Linked DNA regions of Homo sapiens: all the other regions are linked to region 1. Evidence: promoter capture Hi-C in 16 types of primary human blood cells and fetal thymus (Javierre and others, 2016). All regions are on one chromosome and are shown on one strand. The core of a region is centred on a gene start or on the middle of the fragment in contact, and the rest is flanking DNA. Distances in the headings are between cores, read along the strand shown. Region 1 holds the start of PSMA2 (proteasome 20S subunit alpha 2). Region 2 holds the start of BLVRA (biliverdin reductase A). Region 3 overlaps COA1 (cytochrome c oxidase assembly factor 1). Region 4 has its middle 52 kb from the start of STK17A. Region 5 overlaps STK17A (serine/threonine kinase 17a). Region 6 overlaps BLVRA (biliverdin reductase A). Region 7 overlaps COA1 (cytochrome c oxidase assembly factor 1).

Evidence for each region. Contacts are between HindIII fragments. The CHiCAGO score rates a contact against its expected background, and 5 or more counts as called.
Region 2: the fragment with the promoter of BLVRA here is called in contact with the fragment with the promoter of PSMA2 in region 1 in 14 of 17 cell types (total CD8 T cells, naive CD4 T cells, naive CD8 T cells and 11 more); the score reaches 18.2 in total CD8 T cells.
Region 3: a contact is called between a fragment that was not itself captured here and the fragment with the promoter of PSMA2 in region 1, in 3 of 17 cell types (total CD8 T cells, total CD4 T cells and naive CD4 T cells). The highest score is 6.5, in total CD8 T cells.
Region 4: a fragment that was not itself captured here is called in contact with the fragment with the promoter of PSMA2 in region 1 in 1 of 17 cell types (naive CD8 T cells); the score reaches 6.7 in naive CD8 T cells.
Region 5: a contact is called between a fragment that was not itself captured here and the fragment with the promoter of PSMA2 in region 1, in 8 of 17 cell types (total CD8 T cells, naive CD8 T cells, naive B cells and 5 more). The highest score is 15.1, in total CD8 T cells.
Region 6: a contact is called between a fragment that was not itself captured here and the fragment with the promoter of PSMA2 in region 1, in 1 of 17 cell types (non-activated CD4 T cells). The highest score is 6.2, in non-activated CD4 T cells.
Region 7: a contact is called between a fragment that was not itself captured here and the fragment with the promoter of PSMA2 in region 1, in 3 of 17 cell types (total CD8 T cells, activated CD4 T cells and naive CD8 T cells). The highest score is 7.9, in total CD8 T cells.

What each region holds. Positions count from the first base shown.
Region 1 is chr7:42,930,915-42,933,614 of GRCh38, forward strand. PSMA2 (proteasome 20S subunit alpha 2) reads right to left here and starts at 1,260. Exons shown (of 8, transcript NM_002787.5): 1 at 1,204-1,260. The coding sequence starts at 1,244. It overlaps MRPL32 (mitochondrial ribosomal protein L32), which reads left to right and starts at 1,462. Exons shown (of 3, transcript NM_031903.3): 1 at 1,462-1,602. The coding sequence starts at 1,473. RefSeq lists an enhancer at 1,411-1,640. The HindIII fragment of the contact is 5,414 bases long and covers 1-1,560 here.
Region 2 is chr7:43,757,315-43,760,014 of GRCh38, forward strand. BLVRA (biliverdin reductase A) reads left to right here and starts at 1,366. Exons shown (of 8, transcript NM_000712.4): 1 at 1,366-1,420. It also overlaps the pseudogene LOC107986727. RefSeq lists a cis regulatory region at 1-49 and silencers at 1,071-1,460, 1,471-1,790. The HindIII fragment of the contact is 5,653 bases long and covers 1-2,700 here.
Region 3 is chr7:43,652,461-43,655,160 of GRCh38, forward strand. All of the region lies in intron 1 of COA1 (cytochrome c oxidase assembly factor 1), which reads right to left. Among named protein-coding and RNA genes, the nearest start is that of STK17A, 71 kb to the left of the region's middle. RefSeq lists an enhancer at 1-122. The HindIII fragment of the contact is 6,624 bases long and covers 1-2,700 here.
Region 4 is chr7:43,633,871-43,636,570 of GRCh38, forward strand. It overlaps a transcript of COA1 not described here. Among named protein-coding and RNA genes, the nearest start is that of STK17A, 52 kb to the left of the region's middle. RefSeq lists a silencer at 2,300-2,594. The HindIII fragment of the contact is 7,284 bases long and covers 1-2,700 here.
Region 5 is chr7:43,585,644-43,588,343 of GRCh38, forward strand. The region is part of intron 1 of STK17A (serine/threonine kinase 17a); the gene reads left to right. Among named protein-coding and RNA genes, the nearest start is that of STK17A, 3.9 kb to the left of the region's middle. RefSeq lists an enhancer at 1,283-1,342. The HindIII fragment of the contact is 913 bases long and covers 837-1,749 here.
Region 6 is chr7:43,777,174-43,779,873 of GRCh38, forward strand. All of the region lies in intron 2 of BLVRA (biliverdin reductase A), which reads left to right. Among named protein-coding and RNA genes, the nearest start is that of BLVRA, 20 kb to the left of the region's middle. The HindIII fragment of the contact is 2,305 bases long and covers 229-2,533 here.
Region 7 is chr7:43,672,405-43,675,104 of GRCh38, forward strand. All of the region lies in intron 1 of COA1 (cytochrome c oxidase assembly factor 1), which reads right to left. Among named protein-coding and RNA genes, the nearest start is that of COA1, 56 kb to the right of the region's middle. RefSeq lists an enhancer at 2,287-2,431 and a cis regulatory region at 2,354-2,364. The HindIII fragment of the contact is 1,280 bases long and covers 771-2,050 here.

The DNA.
Region 1 (2,700 bases), core at 10-2,509:
TATTGCATAATTAAATTAATCTCGTTCAAAGGTTACAAAAAAACTATTACATACACCCACTGCTTACTGAAAACTGCCAAGAGAAAAGTACTTTTGGAATTTAAGACAACGTTATGTAATGGAAAGTGTATTTTTGTTATCAGAAAAAAAACCCAGTTTGAATGTCAACTCAGCTACTCACCGATGACCTTAGACAAGTTGTTTAATTTGTACAAGCTGCGGTTAGTTCATCTGTAAGAAGCTGAGATAACATTCATTATAGCAGTGGAAAGAGATGGAGCAGGTTAAGGTTAAGTTGCACCTAACAAAGTACTCAACAAGTTAGATCCCGCCTGCCTTCAGTTGTCAGGAGTACATTTTAAGTAAACTGGGCATTACTGATCCTTAAGAAAATGGGTAAGTCAGAAAACTTCCCCAGTCAATTTTTAAAAGTCTTCGGCGATGGTTTTCTCACGTTGAGAGCCATGGTTCGCCCCAACTGTATTTTGGAAAGTAAACTTATTATTCTAATCCCCTTTTCTACAATAGAAAAACCTACAATCTTGTTTAAAGTAAACATCCCCCTCCCCGACGTTCCCCCCAGTCCACCAAAAAAAGACCAAAACTCAAACTTGCCTCGTTGTTAGGGGTTCACAAAAAAGTGATAGGGGCTTTCGGTTTTTAGTCCTTATGTTTCTAATTCGTGCATCGAAGAAACCGAAAGCGGGAGGTTTTGAAAGACACTAGTGCCAAATGGAGACCAAGACTCCGACTTAACTGTAAAGCTGAGAGTTTTCCAAGAAAAGGGAACCCCACATATTTGACCAAGATTCCAAGTTTCAGAAACCACCGCATCAGGTCTACTTGAGCCAGGAAAAAAATCCTGAGTTCGGAACGGGCCACCCAGAGATGGTTAAGCTAAAACTGCCTTCTTTTCTGGTCTCCAAAGTGAAAGCGAATCCTTGGCTATGTGCCTCACCGTCCCGCAGCCCCATGTTAACCCCGCAAAACCGCATCCCCCCGACCCTCCAGCAGCCTCCGACCAAGGAAGCTCCAGGAATCCCGGGTCGGCCTGGCAAATGACTTTGCAAAGCCGCATTTCCAACTCCATTCCCTACTGGACCCTCCAGAAGCACCAATGCCGACGTCAGGATGGGAAAAACTAAATCGACAGAGTACCAGCAACCTCGACTACGCTGAAGACCTCGAGGGCCCCTTCCATACCTGAATGTAGTCAGCGAAAAGCTGTACCCGCGCTCCGCCATCTTTACCCGAAGAGCCAAAGCACAGCCGCACACATGCGCACTGTGGCCGATTTCCTTTCATTTCCCCGCCCCTCACCTTTCCTTTACTCTCTATGATTGGAGGAGAGTCAGAGCTGCTCCAAGAGCATGCGGGGTGTTGTAGTTCTAAGAAGCGAGGCTTGCCCGATTCTGTGCCTGTGCGCATGCTGAAAGCAGGGGCGGGACCGGGGCGGTCTTCCAGCAGGGAAAATGGCGCTGGCCATGCTGGTCTTGGTGGTTTCGCCGTGGTCTGCGGCCCGGGGAGTGCTTCGAAACTACTGGGAGCGACTGCTACGGAAGCTTCCGCAGAGCCGGCCGGGCTTTCCCAGTCCTCCGTGGGGTAGGTAAAGAAGGGCTCCGTGGGAGAGGGGGCTGATGACGGGACCTCGGGCAGCGTAGCAGACGCAGCTTACACAGTTCGCCCTCAGCCCCGGTTCTGATCCGCGGCCTCATGTCGGGGACGTAGTTCGTGACATTCCCATATTAGCGAGAACAGAACGACTGTTTTTGCGCTCCCTCCACCGCAAAAAAAAAAAAAAAAAAATTCCTCTGCTTGTTCCATTCGTACACAGAATGTAACCCAAGCTTGTGTCAAAGATAAATCATAGCCAGCCAGTAAGTAAAGCGCTGAAAACAGATTTTATTCAGTAACTACTGCAGGTAAAGAGCTGAGCTCCATCCCGGTTTGTGCAGAGGTGACTTTGGGCGTTTTAAAGGGAGAATGAGCGAGGCGGGAGTGTAGGGGCTCTGTAGAGTCAGAGAAGTGTAGTATAGTGAAGTCAGTGCAAATGTGATTAGCCGGCTGTGTCTGCTAGCTCGCAGTTGTCTTAGGGAGAATTCTATCCTCCCGCAGAGACTGGGAGACAAAGGCCCTATCCTTCCTAATGATTAGATTTCGAAGGAATGGCTCTCAGGGCCTTGAAAGAAAAGCTTCCGAGTTAGTTGCAAGGGATACGTATTTACAATTATATGCCCTTTCCAGGAAATGCTCTAAGGGAGTTCGGGACCTACTATCGGGGTATGTTGGCCAAAATAAATAGGAAATTTTCCAGGCAGCGTTGAGCTTTCTCAGGCAGGCACTTTAAAGGGGGGGCCGAGGTCATCCTAGGATACAGCCTTATGCTGCTAGAAACTATGCTAGAGTTTGGTCAAGTCTGTGGAGTTCAGGGATTTGTACAGAGTTGTCCTGAGAGGACAGTTCTGCAGGTCTCACTTGGCATCAAGGCTCACCACTCTCTGGATCTGTCTTTCCTTTCCAGCCCTGCCCTCACCTCCCCTCCCGCTTCCCCTCTCCCCCCTCTCCTCTTCCCTTCCCTTCCCTCCCTTCTTTCCTCCCTTCCTCCCTCCCTCCCGCGCAGTACATGTTTTCTGTGGTGTTTGAGCTCTGAGGAGCTGAATTCTGTTTCCCATGTTTCACTTGGAATTAATTTTAATTGGA
Region 2 (2,700 bases), core at 116-2,615, 830 kb after region 1:
GAGGCAGTAGCAGATGAGGTTGTAGGGGTAACAGAGGAGCAGATCAGGCAGGGCTTTGGGTTTTACTCTGAGTTTGGGAAACCACTGGGAAGGTTTTGGGCAGAGGAGGAATTTGATCTGGCTTTCTTTTTTTAAGGTCACTCTGGCTGCTTTATGGGGACAGGCTGCAGGGATATCAGGGAAGAGACCACTGTCATGACCCAGGTAGCAGATGATGGAGGCAGAGGTAAGAAGTGGTCAGGCTCTGGGTATGCTAGGGAGATCCAACCAACAGAATTTTTGGGCCCTGGAGGTGGGATGTGAGAGAAAGGTTTCTGAAACAGCAAGGTTTCTGGCCTTGACAACTGGAAGATGGAGTTGCCATCGAGATGGTGATGCTATGGGGAAGAGATCAGGGGCACAGATTTGGATGTGTTGAGATTGAAATGTATTTTAGAGATCCAAGAGGAGGTATTAAGGAGGCAGCTGGATAGAGGAGTATGGAGTTCAGGAGGCAGGTCCCGCCTGGAGATAAAAATTCAAAGCCAAGCCTTCTCTCTTTGCACTCAACAAAACCTCACTTAAACAGGCTTGTCAGGTCATGGAATACGGTACTAGAACTCTTTGTTGGGGAAAATGCCAGTCAACCTTACCCGTCAGAACGCTGCCTTTAAGATCAGAGATCTCTTTCCTTCAGCCTAATCCACCCCTCTCCCTGTTTTCTCCCCTAGCCCCACTAGGCTAGAAGCTCCCTGGCTTCTCCCACATCAGGATCCCCAACAAACCCATTCCCAGGTGGATAAGAGCCCAGGCAGTTCCCTAGACCACGTTCACTACTTCCTAGCTACCCAAGAGCAGGACATCGCAGACACCGGCCTCCTGGAATATTCCCTCCGCTCCTCACATTTACAGGAAGGACTCAGGTAAGCCTCGGCGCCAGTTCAGTCGGCCCGGGGCCACTAAATACCAATGGGATCCAGTGGGTTCTACGTGGTGAGTGGGGGGCGGATAAGAGAGATGCGACACCCCCCGGGCCTGCCCCCCCCACGCCGGGGCCAGGCACACCGTGAGGGGGCCAGGCACACCGTGAGGGGGCCCAGCCACTTCCATACGCCCTCCGGTCGGCCGGCACCCACCACCCACCCCTCGCCACCAAGCTGGGTGCAGAGAACAGGGCAGGCGCACGGACGGTTCTTACGGCCCCAGGCGCCAGACCCAGGGCACAGAGGCCAGGATCTCACGCGCGACCGCACGAGGCCGGGACCCTCCCTCCCCTTCCGTCCACTCCCTTCCCCACCGCCTCCGGTCCCCTCCCGGTCTCCGCCACCCCGCTTCGGGGCCCCCGCCCCCCAGCCGGGCAGCCAATCGGAGCTGGGATCCCGCCCCGGTCCGCAAAGCCGGTGGCGCCCGGAGGCTGCACGGAGAGCGGTGCCCGCGTCAGGTGAGGCGCGCGCGGGGAACGGGGGTCGCGCGCAGGGGAGCGGGGGTCGCGCGCGGCTTCCATAGAGCGCTAGGGCCTGAGCTCGAAGCCCCAGGCCCGCAGGAGGCCCGGGCCCGCGGCCGCCAGAGCCGGGACGCAGCCTGGGCGCCGCCTGCCCCGCCCCGCCCCGCCCGGGCCCGGAGTGAGGACGCGGTCGGAGGCCCAGCAGCGCGGGTCCCGGCAAGGGGCTTTCTCAACTACACAAAAGACAGTCTAAAAAATTAAGTCTCCATTTCGGTTAAGACTGCCCGTAGTTTCGGTTTTTATGTAGACCCAAGAGGGCAGGCTCGGCGTCCGCGTGCCGCGTAGTCCGGCGGCTCCAGGAGCGCGAGCGGCTGGGCCCGGGCGTAGCCACCGCAGGGCCGCTAGCTCGGCCGGGACCCGCCTGGGATGCCCTGGGGTCTGCTCCGCTGGGGCGAATCCTGAGGCGCCACGCGAGGCACTTGGCCTCTCCTAGCCCCGCTTTCGTTTTTGGAAACTGGAAACTATCACTTATTTCGTAGACGGTGTGAGGGTTACATGACAGTGTTCTGTAAAGTGCACTCTACATATGAAGTGCTCAGAAATATGGCTAATAATGAGGGTATTTATAAACTACTTAAATTATAAAAAGAATGAGACATCAGACTTACAGTTTTGGATACTAATTTTTTTCACTTAACGTTCATTATGTGATAGGAGTTTTCCATCCTATTATACCGCTGTGCGATCTGATCTTGGGCACGTTAACCAACCTCTTGTTGCCTCGATTTTCTCACCTGTAAAAGTGGGGGTAATCATAATGCTTACTTAGTAGGATAGCCCTGAAGAATAAGTGACTTAGCGAACATAAATAGCTTACAATAGGGTTTTCAGCATGGGAAGGATTCAGTAAATGTTAGCTGTCATCATCACCACCTACAAAGGAAGCAATACTGTGCTGAAAGTTTTTCCATCATTAATGTAATTTCTATAGTACGATTCCCAAGAAGATATTAAAATTATGGAAATAAAGGTATTGGTATATTCCTAATTATTTCCTAAAAGATTGTATTGATAAATATGCTCATCCTTCCCTTAACGGGATGCATTCCAGAAAAACAAGTCAAATGTTAGACAAAGTATCAGAAGGGAAATTCTGTAGCCAGAGAGCTAAAAATTACAATAGGGTCTCTAATTATACTTCAACTTTTTTAGGAATAATTCTCAGTGTGTTTTCCCACATTTCATATGTAATTTTTTTTTTTTTTTTTTTTTGAGAC
Region 3 (2,700 bases), core at 167-2,666, 720 kb after region 1:
CTTAAGAAAGAAAGGTTCTGAAACTTGCTTATGGTCATGCAGCTATTCCCTATCAGAACTATTACATGCATCTGTCTGACTCCAGAGGGCATGGTCTCTCCACTGAGCCAAGACCATGGATTTCAGAAGAATCAGCTTCTCACACAGGTAGGATGTGCTGTCCAAAAGCCATTTCCATCTGCCAGAAGCAAATCACTGCTACTCTGGGAAATAGTTTTAATCAATATATCCCCAAGTTATAATTTAAGGGAACAAGGTAAAAAAAGGAGATACAAAATCACTTAGAGACTACTGGGAGGAAATGGAGAGATGGTTCTTCCCTATTGTTGAATGGGCATGGCCCACTGCTACTATCACTCTGGGGATTACATATCATCCAGCCTTTAAAAATCGAACCGTTGTCAAGGGTCAGGGTGGGAGGGGGTGGGGGGACAGTGGAAAGATAGTACAGAGAATTATGCTTAAGACAATAGAGATGAAAAAAGTAAGGCAATATAAATTAAAATGAAAAAGAATAAGAAACAAAATCCAAAAGGCCAAAAATAAAGATTAAAACTTTGGCATTTAAGAAAAAGAAGTATGTGGCTCACACCTGTAATCCCAGCACTTTGGGAGGCCGAGGCGGGTGGATCACGAGGTCAGGAGATCGAGACCATCCTGGCTAACGTGGTGAAACCCCGTCTCTACTAAAAATACAAAAAATTAGCCAGGCATAGTGGCGGGCACCCGTAGTCCCAGCTACTCGGGAGGCTGAGGCAGGAGAATGGCGTGAACCCGGGAGGTGGAGCTTGCGGTGAGCCGAGATTGCGCCACTGCACTCCAGCCTGGGCGACAAAGCGACACTCCGTCTCAAACAAACAAAAAAAAAGTATGAACGGCAAAAACAAAACAAAAGAAGGCTAAACTTTTTTGAAGAATGAAATGTCTCAAATTTAAGGTAAGGGAGACAAAAGGATAGTACTAAAAAGCAAAATGATAAAAGCATGTGAGTAAACATGATAAAAGTTTTTTTAAGTAAAAGACTATGAAATTAAGCATTTTAAAAATTAAGTATACAAATGTTAGCGCTGACTTTTTAACCACATTTTGGCTCTGAAATCATGGAATAACTTGAATGCTTGTAGAGGAAAGGCTTACCGTAACCCTTTATTCTTAATCACGAGGCAAGCTCCCTTTGTTAAGCTGAGTTAAGAATGTTAATAAAAGGCTGTCCAACACCCTTTCTACAGGTTGGCACAAAAGTAATTGTGGTTTTCACCACTGAAAGTAATGGCGAAAACCACAATTACTTTTGCACCAACCTAATATCAGAGATGTCTGCTACTCATCCCATGAAGACCAAGACTGCCTGGAGAGAGGGTCCCTGTGCCAATGGGAAGGATTAATGATTTTTTTTAAAGATTAATAAACTGTAAAATGACGGAAGATGCCATTTAGTTTAAGAGGGTATCAAGCTACCACTTCCTGATATGACTTCAGAAATTCCATTTAAAATACCTATAAAGATACACACAAGAAAAGACAGAAAGTAGGGCCTGCTTGGAACCATAACAAGTTGCAAAAGTCTGAGGAAATTTCCACTAACCACAATGTAAGTGAAGAGAGAAAGAGAAACATGTCCATGGACAAATGAACCCTGGCAGAGATGGCCAGAAAGCCTGTGGAGAAAGGGTTCGGCCCTTCACCTCTCTCCACACCCAGCTCAAAGTTTCTGGGTTTGTAGCAATCAGGAAACAGGCTGGCCAGCCCCAAACTGGGTATGAGTCCAGCTTCCAGAGACAGCCATTGTCATTTCCCCACCCCACTCTGTTTCTATATCCATTCAGAGACTACAATCCTAAGTAAACCCAGCAGTAAGGAGAGGCAGGATTGGCAGCGGTGCAATAACAAACTCACTCTAAGAAATAAAAGAATATGGAGAAAAATATCACTTTGGGTACTTAATTGGTTGTAGAAAGACTGCCTGTTAAGAACCACACGTGATGGGAACAAAGGACACTACACGCTAAAGAAGGAAAGGGAAGAAACTCAAATAAGGAGTGATGTCAAGGAAACTCACAAACTAGAATTAACATAGCAGAAAGCCAAATTCATAATGAAGTCATATTCAGGAAGTTATTGAAAAAAAAATCCAAATGCATAATGAAAGAACAAGAATATAAAAATGAAGAGCAAGAAAATGGCAAGTGGAGATTTAGAAACTAAGATCTGTTCAACAGATCATTGCTTCTGATGTTAAATAACTAGAGTAAATGGAAGATGAGATAAAACAAAAATGATACTAAAAGAAAACTTGAAAAAAGACAAAAATGTAGAACATGTTCCAGTTCCGTTCACCAACACCTCCTGGTAAAATTTTACATACCATTTTCCCAAAAGGTATACCAACAAAGGATGACATATTGGAGTAGCCTTAGGCTTCTTCTCTGTAACTACAAATTCCTGAGAATAAAGGCCCAACCAAACTGTGTGAAGAGGAAGACATTATAAATTTGGAACAAACTCAAGATATTCTATAATCTACATAGACATCCTGAAAACATTATTTGAAAACATATTGCAACTTATTGAAAAAAAATCCAAATTCCTTAAAAATAATGGCATATTAGGACCAGCAGCATGCACTGAGACCAATTAATCCAAATAATTGTTTACTTATAAAATGAACAGAAACATCTAGTGTTTTGTTATTTTACTTTT
Region 4 (2,700 bases), core at 186-2,685, 700 kb after region 1:
TGTTAGGTCTTTAGCTAGAGGCCCACAGGTACCAATTGCAGTCTGTTTTCTCCGCTCAGATTTTTATTTCATCTTTAAATTCAGTGATTGTTTTCTCGTTACTCCTCATTCTGCTGTTTAACCCATCCAGTGAGATTTTTGTTTCATTTACTCTTCTCAATTCTAAAATTTCCATTTGATTCTGCCATCTTCTAAGACTTCCTATTTTTTTCATTTATTCCAAGCATGTTCATGATTGCTCACTGAATCTTTTTTTTAAATGATGGCTGCTTCAAAATCCTTGTCAGATAATTCTAAAATCTGTGTTATCTTGGTGTTGGTGTCTGTTAACTCTCTGTTCTCATTCAGGTTGACATTTGCCTGGTTCTTGGCATAAGAGCATGGCTTTCTGTTCTATTCTGCCCATTTGGGTTTGAGACGCTGGACCTTGTTTGAATCATGTTTTCGTAGGTCTACTCTGACACCACCCAAGTGGGTGACGGGGGCATGTGGTGGGGTTGATGGTTCAGGCTCACTACTGAGCCCCTTTGAATACAGGCAGGGGGAGGGGTGGCTAAGTGCAGCTTCCCGCTAGAACACGTGGGTCCCACTGATACCATGGGAGTGGGGGCAGTTGTTCCTCCTGGGTCAGGGTAAAAGTCTAAGCTCCCAACATGGCCTCCACTGACACTATGGGGGTGGGCCTCATTACCATCCTGCAGGGATAGATGTCCCAAGCTCTCTGCTGGGCTAGCTCTGACACTGCTCCAGCAGGGGATGGGGAGGCCTCATTACAACAGGCAAAGAAGGTCTAGGCTCCCCACTTGGCTTTTGCTGATGAGGCTGTGGGATTGGGGCCATGGGTTTTTCCATGGTGTTTGCATAGAGTAGGGCAGTTACTTCTTAGAGTTCTCCATCTTTCTAAGTTGCCCTGTCCTGATCCTTTGGCTAGAGACACCAGGCTTTGCTTAGCCGTTGGCTCCTATTGGTGTTTCTGGGGTACTGGTTTCTCCAGTGCCTCATATTTGCCCAATATTAGGCAAAAGAAAACCCAGGGAAATCGATGCTGTGTTATTCCTTGGGTACTGAAGTTCCTAGCCATTTGGTCTTCTCATCTTTCACAGTAGTCTGATGTTTGTTTTATGGAAGTCCAGGCTGCACTTAGTGGAGGAATAGCGAGAAGTGTGTCTACTCTTTCTTGTTTCTTCTACTTTGTTTTGAATAGTGAATTTTCTAACAATGTGGTCCTAGAAAGTAGCTTAATTTATAAAATATATGCTTATAAATATAACTTTTATATAATTTTATAAATATTGACTCAGTCAAACCACCAAGGACATGTTCTGCAATCAATGGTTTGTGTGTCTCTCCAATTGAATATTAAGTCCTAGATCTAAGCCATGTCTTAGGTTAAAATAATTCCAGGATTTCCCGATATTGAACCACCTTTGCATTCCTGGAATAAACCTCTATTAGTCACTGTTAACAGCAGGGTGCACTAGGTTAAGCTGGGGTAACAAATAGCCCCCCATCTTAGGGGCTTGTAAGGGTTTATGTCTCCCTTATGCTCCGTGTCCCACTGTGGGTCAGCTGTCCGAGCCCCCAAGCCCTTGAAGTAGCCACCATCTGGAACATTACCAATCTTAGGGACGAAGGCAAAGTGGACAGCATGAACCAAGGGCTGGCACTTAAAACTTTTACTCAGAAGTCCTGCATGCCACTTCCACTCACAAGCCACACAGTCACACCTAAGTTCAACGAGGCAGGGATGTATAATCCTCCCACAGGAAAGAGCACTGAGAGGGAGAAGCACCAACCTATTTCGTGAAAAATAATACAATATACCACTACATATCACTGGACTCAGTTCACTAATATTTTATTTTGAATATTTGCATCAACCTTCATAAGGGAGACAGGTCTATAGTTTCTCGTTTCATAAAAATAATTTGGAAGTGAAAAATTACTTTGTCATTAAGACTGCAAGGTGACTGATGTGGTAGCTCAAGTTAAAAGATAAGTGTTAAAAGATAAGTGTTACATGTTTTAGGTGTATAGTAGGGGGTCTAATTTCTGCCTTGGCGGCTTATTATTTAATAATAAAAGGTTTTTAACATACCTCATGTGATCTGATAAGTCAATTAAAAAGTTTCCTTAAAAAAATTCCTTTTGGAAATTTCCTCTAAGGGAAAAAAAACTTGCAAGATAATTTAGGAATGAAAAGTACTCTCTCCTGCAAAGTCAGATTTCACTTCGGCACCCAACCCGTGTCTTAGAGGCATGTTTTTAGTATTTTCATTTCCTACTTTTCTGCCCTGGATTATAACATGGGCGCAGTTTTTCTGTACACATTCCTGACAGTGCTTTCAACTCAGGAACTCTGCCAAAAAACATGCCTGAACCAGGAGCGCATTACTAAGGAGGTGAGAATCTTCTAGTGGGTGGAGACTGGAGGTTTTCCTATCAATCACCCTCCCACCTCTTTCTGGACCGCCCCCATCATTGAGCCTCCTGTGTAAAACAGCATCTTTTGCCCAAGCATCCCAATGAGCAGTATAAACATTGTCTCACCTGTAAGGCAAGTGATTGGTAAATATTTATTCATATTTTTCAGATGGACAAACTGAAAACGCCAGAGAGTCAAGTGGCCTAAAGCCACTTCCAAAGCTGCTTGCTTTGGGAAAACCCTTCAGAACTGCCGCTTCTTGAGCATTTCCCTGG
Region 5 (2,700 bases), core at 43-2,542, 650 kb after region 1:
TTGGCTTTGGAGTCAGACAGTGTGAGATTGAATCTTGGCTCTTACTAGTTATGTGGACTTGAGTGCATTACCTAACCGTTTATTGCCTCATAGGGTTGGTGAGAGAATTAAGTAAAACACATAGCCTTAAGGCTGTGCTTAGCTTAGGGGAAGCACTCAATAAATGTAATTCATGGTGTAATTCAATAAATGTTATTATTTTAAATGTAACCCAAAAAGAAAACCTGCACAATCTCAAAAAATGCCTCTATGTCTGGCAAAAGTAATGAAGTCACAGGAACTGTTCAGAAGTCTCAGGAAGGAAAAGTTCTGTTTGTGTATAAGCAGTCCTTGTTTAAGTTTTATAAACTTTGCCTGTATTTATGGTTTTAACATAGCTAAGTGTGTCTCTGCTTCATCTTTGATAAGATAGAAAACCTATTTTTCCAACAATTAACTCTGGTTGCATTTCTGATATAACTAATTAATCTCACGCTGATAAAGAACTTGGAGAATACCCGTGTTAATAGTTTAATGATGTGGGAAGAAAAACAGATTTTTTTTTTCATTTTATTCTATGGCCTTTCATTTAGTAAAATGCAGAAGGGGTGTGATGAGTTAACTGTTCAAACAAATCATTCTTTTTCAGGTGCTACTATGTTATCACAGATCTAAAACTTTCAATGAGATGACTGTTCAAAGAGAATTTTTTAAATGGTCAACATTGATTCCAGAGTAATGACAGGATGTGATGTTGATCATTTAAGAAATGTTGCATTCTTTCATGTCTCCAACAGAGTCCATAGCAGCGTAAATAAGGGTAAATATATGATGTAAAACATTCTTTTATTGCTTGAAGCTTGACTGGTTAAGGCTTGTTACCTTTCTTTGAGTCAGGATGTATGCCAATGTAAACCACATTAATGATTTCGTTACTGGGGCACACAAGAGAAATGACCTTGGGTTCTGATAATTTTTTCGTGTTGATTTCCCTTGAGTTTATTGATAATATAGAAACAGAAAGATGTTTCAAGGAACTTAAAGATAACACCAGTTTCATAGCAAATGATTTGCCTTACATTTGTTTTCATTATCTAGTCCTCAACTTTAATGTTTTTAATATACCGATAAATTTTTTCTTAAGAAAAAAATATTTTAAGCCAAAAGAACACTTTAAAAATATTAGTACATGCTAATAGTTGGATTTTCCTAAGGAAAAAAGTTACAAATACAAGTTCCCATCTGAAACAGGTACTTTATAATGTGCAGGCCTTACAGTTTTACAAGTGCTTTCACATGCATTATCTCATTGATTCTCACCACAAGCCTGTTTGGAAAGCCCCATTTTTCAGATGAGAAAACAAAGACAGATTTAAAAGTCTTGTGAGAGATAACAGAGCTGGGACTCCTGACTTTGAAATCATTCCCATTACACCACACATGTTTTTCAAAGAATAATTTGTAGTCTGTATCTTATGACTAAAGCAATTTCCTGTCATTTTAATGAAATGATATGTTTTTATTGTTTTTTGTTTTTTTTTTTTTTTTTTGAGATGGAGTCTCGCTCTGTCGCCCAGGCTAGAGTGCAGTGGCGCGATCTCAGCTCACCGCAAGACCCGCCTCCTGGGTTCACGCCATTCTCCTGCCTCAGCCTCCCGAGTAGCTGGGACTATAGGCGCCTGCCACCATGCCTGGCTAATTTTTTGTATTTTTAGTAGAGACAGGGGAAAGGATCTGTTAATGAGTTCTACATTGGAACAAACATGACCAAGCTTCAGTGTCATATAGTTAAGTTCCCACTGGGGCCTTAAAGTAAATTAGGGATGTCCTATCTCATTCTCCTCAGAGCAGTCAGGGGTAATAGGGACAAGAGAGGATTTTTATCAGAGAATAAGAGAATATTCAAACTGAAAGGGGACTCTGGGTGGGTATTTTGGGGACTGTGTGTCCTTACCTAGATTGATGGCTGTAGGTAATAGCTTCAGTTTTTGTATCTGACAAGAACTTAAGCGTGTGTCATAAGTTATCATTTTTTAACAAATAAAGACCTTTATTAAGTAATATCCATGCAGAAATTGCTTTGTTTTAACACAGATGTTATTTAAGATTTCTTGACAGCTAGTCATTAGTTTGAAGAATTTTATTTACAAACAGTTTTGGGTAATCTGATACTTTGGATAGATAAAAGAAAATTGGCCATATTTGTGGTTCAACAATAAAGTTACTTGGAAAGTATGGCTTCTGCTCTTAGGCAGGTACTTTAAGTCAGTCAGCTGTTTAATTTTGAAAAGTTCATGCTTCAAATGTTAAAATCTTAATTTAAAATACATGAATGTAAGAATTTGAATTTTAATCTTTTCATAAAACCATAGATGACACAATTTTATAAAATATGATTATTGAACCAAATGCATTAGAAAGCTAAGTAGCTATAGTCACCTCTTCAGGTAAGTAAGAAGTTAACTAGATTTCTTGAGAGAATTTACACATTATGTAGACTTAATAGCTCACCTCCAGAACTCCTGTTCTGATATTTTTTTTAAATTATTATCATTGGTTATATCATAGATCTGAAATTAATGCCAAAAACAATAAAAATAGCCACTGATTATTGATCATTTGCTGAATGCTACACACTTTAAAGATGTAATTTTGTATAGTCTTCACTGCCCTGTATGGTAAAGTGCCATTGATCTCATTTTACAGATGAGGAATCCCAGG
Region 6 (2,700 bases), core at 131-2,630, 850 kb after region 1:
ATCCTGTCATTATGATGTTAGCTGGTTATTTTGCTCGTTAGTTGATGCAGTTTCTTCCTAGCCTTGATGGTCTTTACAATTTGGCATGTTTTTGCAGTGGCTGGTACCGGTTGTTCCTTTCCATGTTTAGTGCTTCCTTCAGGAGCTCTTTTAGGGCAGGCCTGGTGGTGACAAAATCTCTCAGCATTTGCTTGTCTGTAAAGTATTTTATTTCTCCTTCACTTATGAAGCTTAGTTTGGCTGGATATGAAATTCTGGGTTGAAAATTCTTTTCTTTAAGAATGTTGAATATTGGCCCCCACTCTCTTCTGGCTTGTAGAGTTTCTGCCGAGAGATCCGCTGTTAGTCTGATGGGCTTCCCTTTGTGGATAACCCGACCTTTCTCTCTGGCTGCCCTTAACATTTTTTCCTTCATTTCAACTTTGGTGAATCTGACAATTATATGTCTTGGAGTTGCTTTTCTCGAGGAGTATCTTTGTGGTGTTCTCTGTATTTCCTGAATCTGAATGTTGGCCTGCCTTGCTAGATTGGGGAAGTTCTCCTGGATAATATCCTGCAGAGTGTTTTCTAACTTCGTTCCATTCTCCCCGTCACTTTCAGGTACACCAATCAGACGTAGATTTGGTCTTTTCACATAGTCCCATATTTCTTGGAGACTTTGTTCATTTCTTTTTATTCTTCTTTCTCTAAACTTCCCTTCTCGCTTCATTTCATTCATTTCATCTTCCGTCACTGATACCCTTTCTTCCAGTTGATCGCATTGGCTCCTGAGGCTTCTGCATTCTTCACGTAGTTCTCGAGCCTTGGCTTTCAGCTCCATCAGCTCCTTTAAGCATTTCTCTGTATTGGTTATTCTAGTTATACATTCATCTAATTTTTTTTCAAAGTTTTTAACTTCTTTGCCATTGGTTTGAATTTCCTCCTGTAGCTCAGAGTAGTTTGATCATCTGAAGCCTTCTTCTCTCAACTCATCAAAGCCATTCTCCGTCCAGCTTTGTTCCGTTGCTGGTGAGGAACTGCATTCCTTTGGAGGAGGAGAGGCGCTCTGCTTTTTAGAGTTTCCAGTTTTTCTGCTCTGTTTTTTCCCCATCTTTGTGGTTTTATCTACCTTTGGTCTTTGATGATGGTGATGTACAGATGGGTTTTTGGTGTGGATGTCCTTTCTGTTTGTTAGTTTTCCTTCTAACAGACAGGACCCTCAGTTGCAGGTCTGTTGGAGTTTGCTAGAGGTCCACTCCAGACCGTTTGCCTGGGTATCAGCAGCGGTGGCTGCAGTACAGCGGTGGCTGTAGAACAGCGGATTTTCGTGAACCGCAAATGCTGCTGCCTGATCGGTCCTCTGGAAGTTTTGTCTCAGAGGAGTACCTGGCTGTGTGAGGTGTCAGTCTGCCCCTACTTGGGGGTGCCTCCCAGTTAGGCTGCTCGGGGGTCAGGGACCCACTTGAGGAGGCAGTCTGCCTGTTCTCAGATCTCCAGCTGCGTGCTGGGAGAACCACTACTCTCTTCAAAGCTGTCAGACAGGAACGTTTAAGTCTGCAGAGGTTACTGCTGTCTTTTTGTTTGTCTGTGCCCTGCCCCCAGAGGTGGAGCCTACAGAGGCAGGCAGGCCTCCTTGAGCTGTGGTGGGCCCCACCCAGTTCGAGCTTCCCGGCTGCTTTGTTTACCTAAGCAAGCCTGGGCAATGGCAGGCGCCCCTCCCCCAGCCTTGCTGCCACCTTGCAGTTTGATCTCAGACTGCTGTGCTAGCAATCAGCGAGACTCCGTGGGCATAGGACCCGCCGAGCCATGTGCAGAATATAATCTCCTGTTGTGCTGTTTTTTAAGCCTGTTGGAAAAGCGCAGTATTAGGGTGGGAGTGACCCAATTTTCCAGGTGCTGTCTGTCACCCCTTTCTTTGACTAGGAAAGGGAACTCCCTGACCCCTTGCGCTTCCCGAGTGAGGCACTGCCTCGCCCTGCTTCGGCTTGCACACGGTGCACTGCACCCACTGTCTGGCACTCCCTAGTGAGGTGAACCCGGTACCTCAGATGGAAATGCAGAAATCACCCGTCTTCTGCGTTGCTCACGCTGGGAGCTGTAGACCGGAGCTGTTCCTATTCGGCCATCTTGGCTCCACTATCCTATCTTTCTCATCCCCTGCAAGGCAGGCTTCTCAAAAAAGATACCTGCAGTTAATTTCTCCGTTTTCTCTTCCCTGGGTCATTCTCAGCCTGTTGCAGTCTGGTTTCTTTTCCCATATTATATACCGAAATGAGTCTTGTCAGGGTCAATGATGATCTCTGTAAATTTTATAAAAATTTATTTTGTAATAATGTAGACACATGTTCATAGTGTAAAACTCAGGCTACAGAATGGAAAACAGCCAAAAGTAAGTCTCCCTATTACGTTATCTTGACCAGCCCTGCCCCACTTGGGGCTGACTTCTGGTAACCACTTTCTTGTGCCTCTGACCTCCTTATCTGAAGGCCCCTGTGGCTCACCCTGTGGCTTGCTCTAATTCTTAGGATCTTTTAAGTTCTAAAGAAACAATAGAAGCTTTGCATTAATATTAAGCTTATACACCCTGGTCCAGGAGCAGTTCCATCAGTCATCAGTGATCTCTTCTGTCCTTTTTGATGGCTTTTCCTCTTAACCTTGTAAGAACATGCTAGACTTGGGTCCTCCTCTGCTGTTCCTTACATATATATATTTTATATTTTT
Region 7 (2,700 bases), core at 161-2,660, 740 kb after region 1:
ATAAAAACAAAAACCACATGATCATCCCCAAACTCAAAGGCTTTCAATAAAATTCAACATCCCTTCATATTAAAAACCCTCAACAGGCCAGGCACAGTGGCTCACGCCTGTAATCCCAACACTTTGGGAGGCCAAGGCGGGCAGATCACGAGTTCAAGAGATGGAGACCATCCTGGCCAACATGGTGAAACCCCATCTCTACTAAAAATACAAAAATTAGCTGGGCATGGTGGTGCACACCTGTAGTCCCAGCTACTCAGGAAGCTGAGGCAGGAGAATCACTTGAACCCAGGAGGCAGAGGTTGCAGTGAGCCAAGATCACGCCACTGCACTCCAGCCTGACAACAGAGCGAGGCTCCATCTCAAACCAAAAAAAAAAAAAAAAGAGAGAGAGACAGAAAGAAGGAAACAGACACATATACCAATGGAACAGAACAGGGAACCCAGAAATAATGCCGCACACCTACAACCATCTAATCTTTGATAAAGTTAACAAAAACAAAGAATGGGGAAAGGACTCCCTGTTCAATTAATGGTGCTGAAATAATGGGCTAGCCATATACAGAAGATTGAAACTGGACTCCTTCCTTACACCATATACAAAAATCAACTCAAGATGGACTAAAGACTTAGATGTAAAACCTAAAACTAAAAAAACTCTGGAAGATAACCTAGGAAATACATTCTGGACATAGGACACGGCAAAGATTTCATGAAGATGCCAAAGGCAATTGTAACAAAAGCAAAAATTGACAAGTGAGATCTAATTAAGCTTCAGAGCTTCTGTGCAGCAAAGAAACTATCAACAGAGTAAACAGACAACCTACAGAAGAAAATATGTGCAAATTATGCATCCAACAACGGTCTAATATCCAGAATCTATAAGCAACTTAAATCAATAAACAACCCCATTAAAAAGTGGGCAAAGGACATGAACAGACACTTTTCAAAAGAAGACATGTAAGTGGCCAAGAAGCATATGAAAAAAAGTTCCACATCACTAATCATGAGATAAATGCAAATGAAAACCACAATGAGATACCATCTCACAGCAGTGAAAATGGCTATTATTAAAAAGTCAAAAAATAACAGATGCTGGCAAGGTTGCGGAGAAAAGGGAACACTTACATACTGCTAGTAGGAATGTAAATTAGTTCAGCCATTGTGGAAAGCAGTTTGGCAATTTCTCAAAGAACGCAAAGCAGAATTACCATTTGACCCAGCAATCTCATTATTGCGTATATACCCAAAGGTATAAAAATTGCTCTTCCATAAAGACACATGCACACGTATGTTCATCACTGCACTATTCACAATAGCAAAGACATGGAATCAACCTAAATGCCCACCAATGGTGGAATGGATAAAGAAAATGTGGTATATATACACCATGGAATAATATGTAGCCATAAAAAAGAACAAGATCATGTCCTTTGCAGCAACACAGATGGACCTGGAGGCCATTATCCTAAGTGAATTAACACAGGAACAGGAAACCAAATACCACAGGTTCTCTCTTCTAAGTAGGAGCTAAACATTGGATATGTATAGACACAAAGAAAGGCACAACAGACACCAGGACCTACTTAAAGGTGGAGGGAGGGAGGGAGGAAGGTAAGGACAGAAAAACTACCTATCAGGTTCTATGCTTATTACGTAGGTGGCAAAATAATCTGTACATCCAACCCCTGTGACACAAAATCTACCTATATAACAAACCTGCACATGTACCCCTCAACCTAAAAGTTAAAAACAAAAAAGGGAGTTTACAAATAGCTTCCTAAGTAGAATTTTTAAGTCTTCTTTCTCCCCCACCCAATAGCTCCAACACTTCAGATTTACAGATTATAAACCTTCAACACATATAAATAACTAAGATGGTCTTTGATAAAAATCAAAACTATTCTTAAAATTCAACTCTGAGTAAACTTTCATTCTGTTTCATGTGTTATATTGTCCTGTTTGCCTGCAAGTAGAAACTGTGTGTTACTTGTCTCATGTTCCATATAATACAACGTTTGGCAAGTGGTAAGCATCTAATACACAACAAAGCTTACTTCTTTCTTGCTCCAAAAATGAAAATGGCTTTATAAAACTCTATAATTTTGAGGAAGAGTTGGAGAAATCACCCTAAACATATAAAACTGCAATGATATTACTGTGGGCAATGTGATGATAAACCACTCCTTGTGTTAGAAAAGAATTAACATAGCAACTTGCTTTGTCCATAATTTTAGTCTGATGTAATCCTAAAGTTGGAGGGTGTGATTTGTGACAAATGGACCTGAGTCAAGGACACGATTTCCTTGATGAATTGAGTTTATTCAGTTAGTCACAGAGGGAGTAAATATGTATGACTCAGCATCAAGACTTATCTTCAGGACTTTTAAGGACAAACTTCCTATAACTACTCTTATTCAAACCAACTCTGTCCTCTTCACAGCTGAACCATGGCACAGGTATTAGGTATTTTCAAAACAGCTGGTAAAGTTGATAGACGTGCTTGGCTGAAGGTAATTTTAAAGGTTAAAAGTCATCATCCAAGTTTGTTTTCAACAGATATTACACTTTGTGTTTTTCTTAGAAACCCTGAACACAGGAGTAGCCCTTCATTTTTTGTTCTTCCCCAACACAAACAGATGACATTTACAATCACAAATACTCTGTCAGGCTATAGAATAAATAAGTGCACTCACTGTA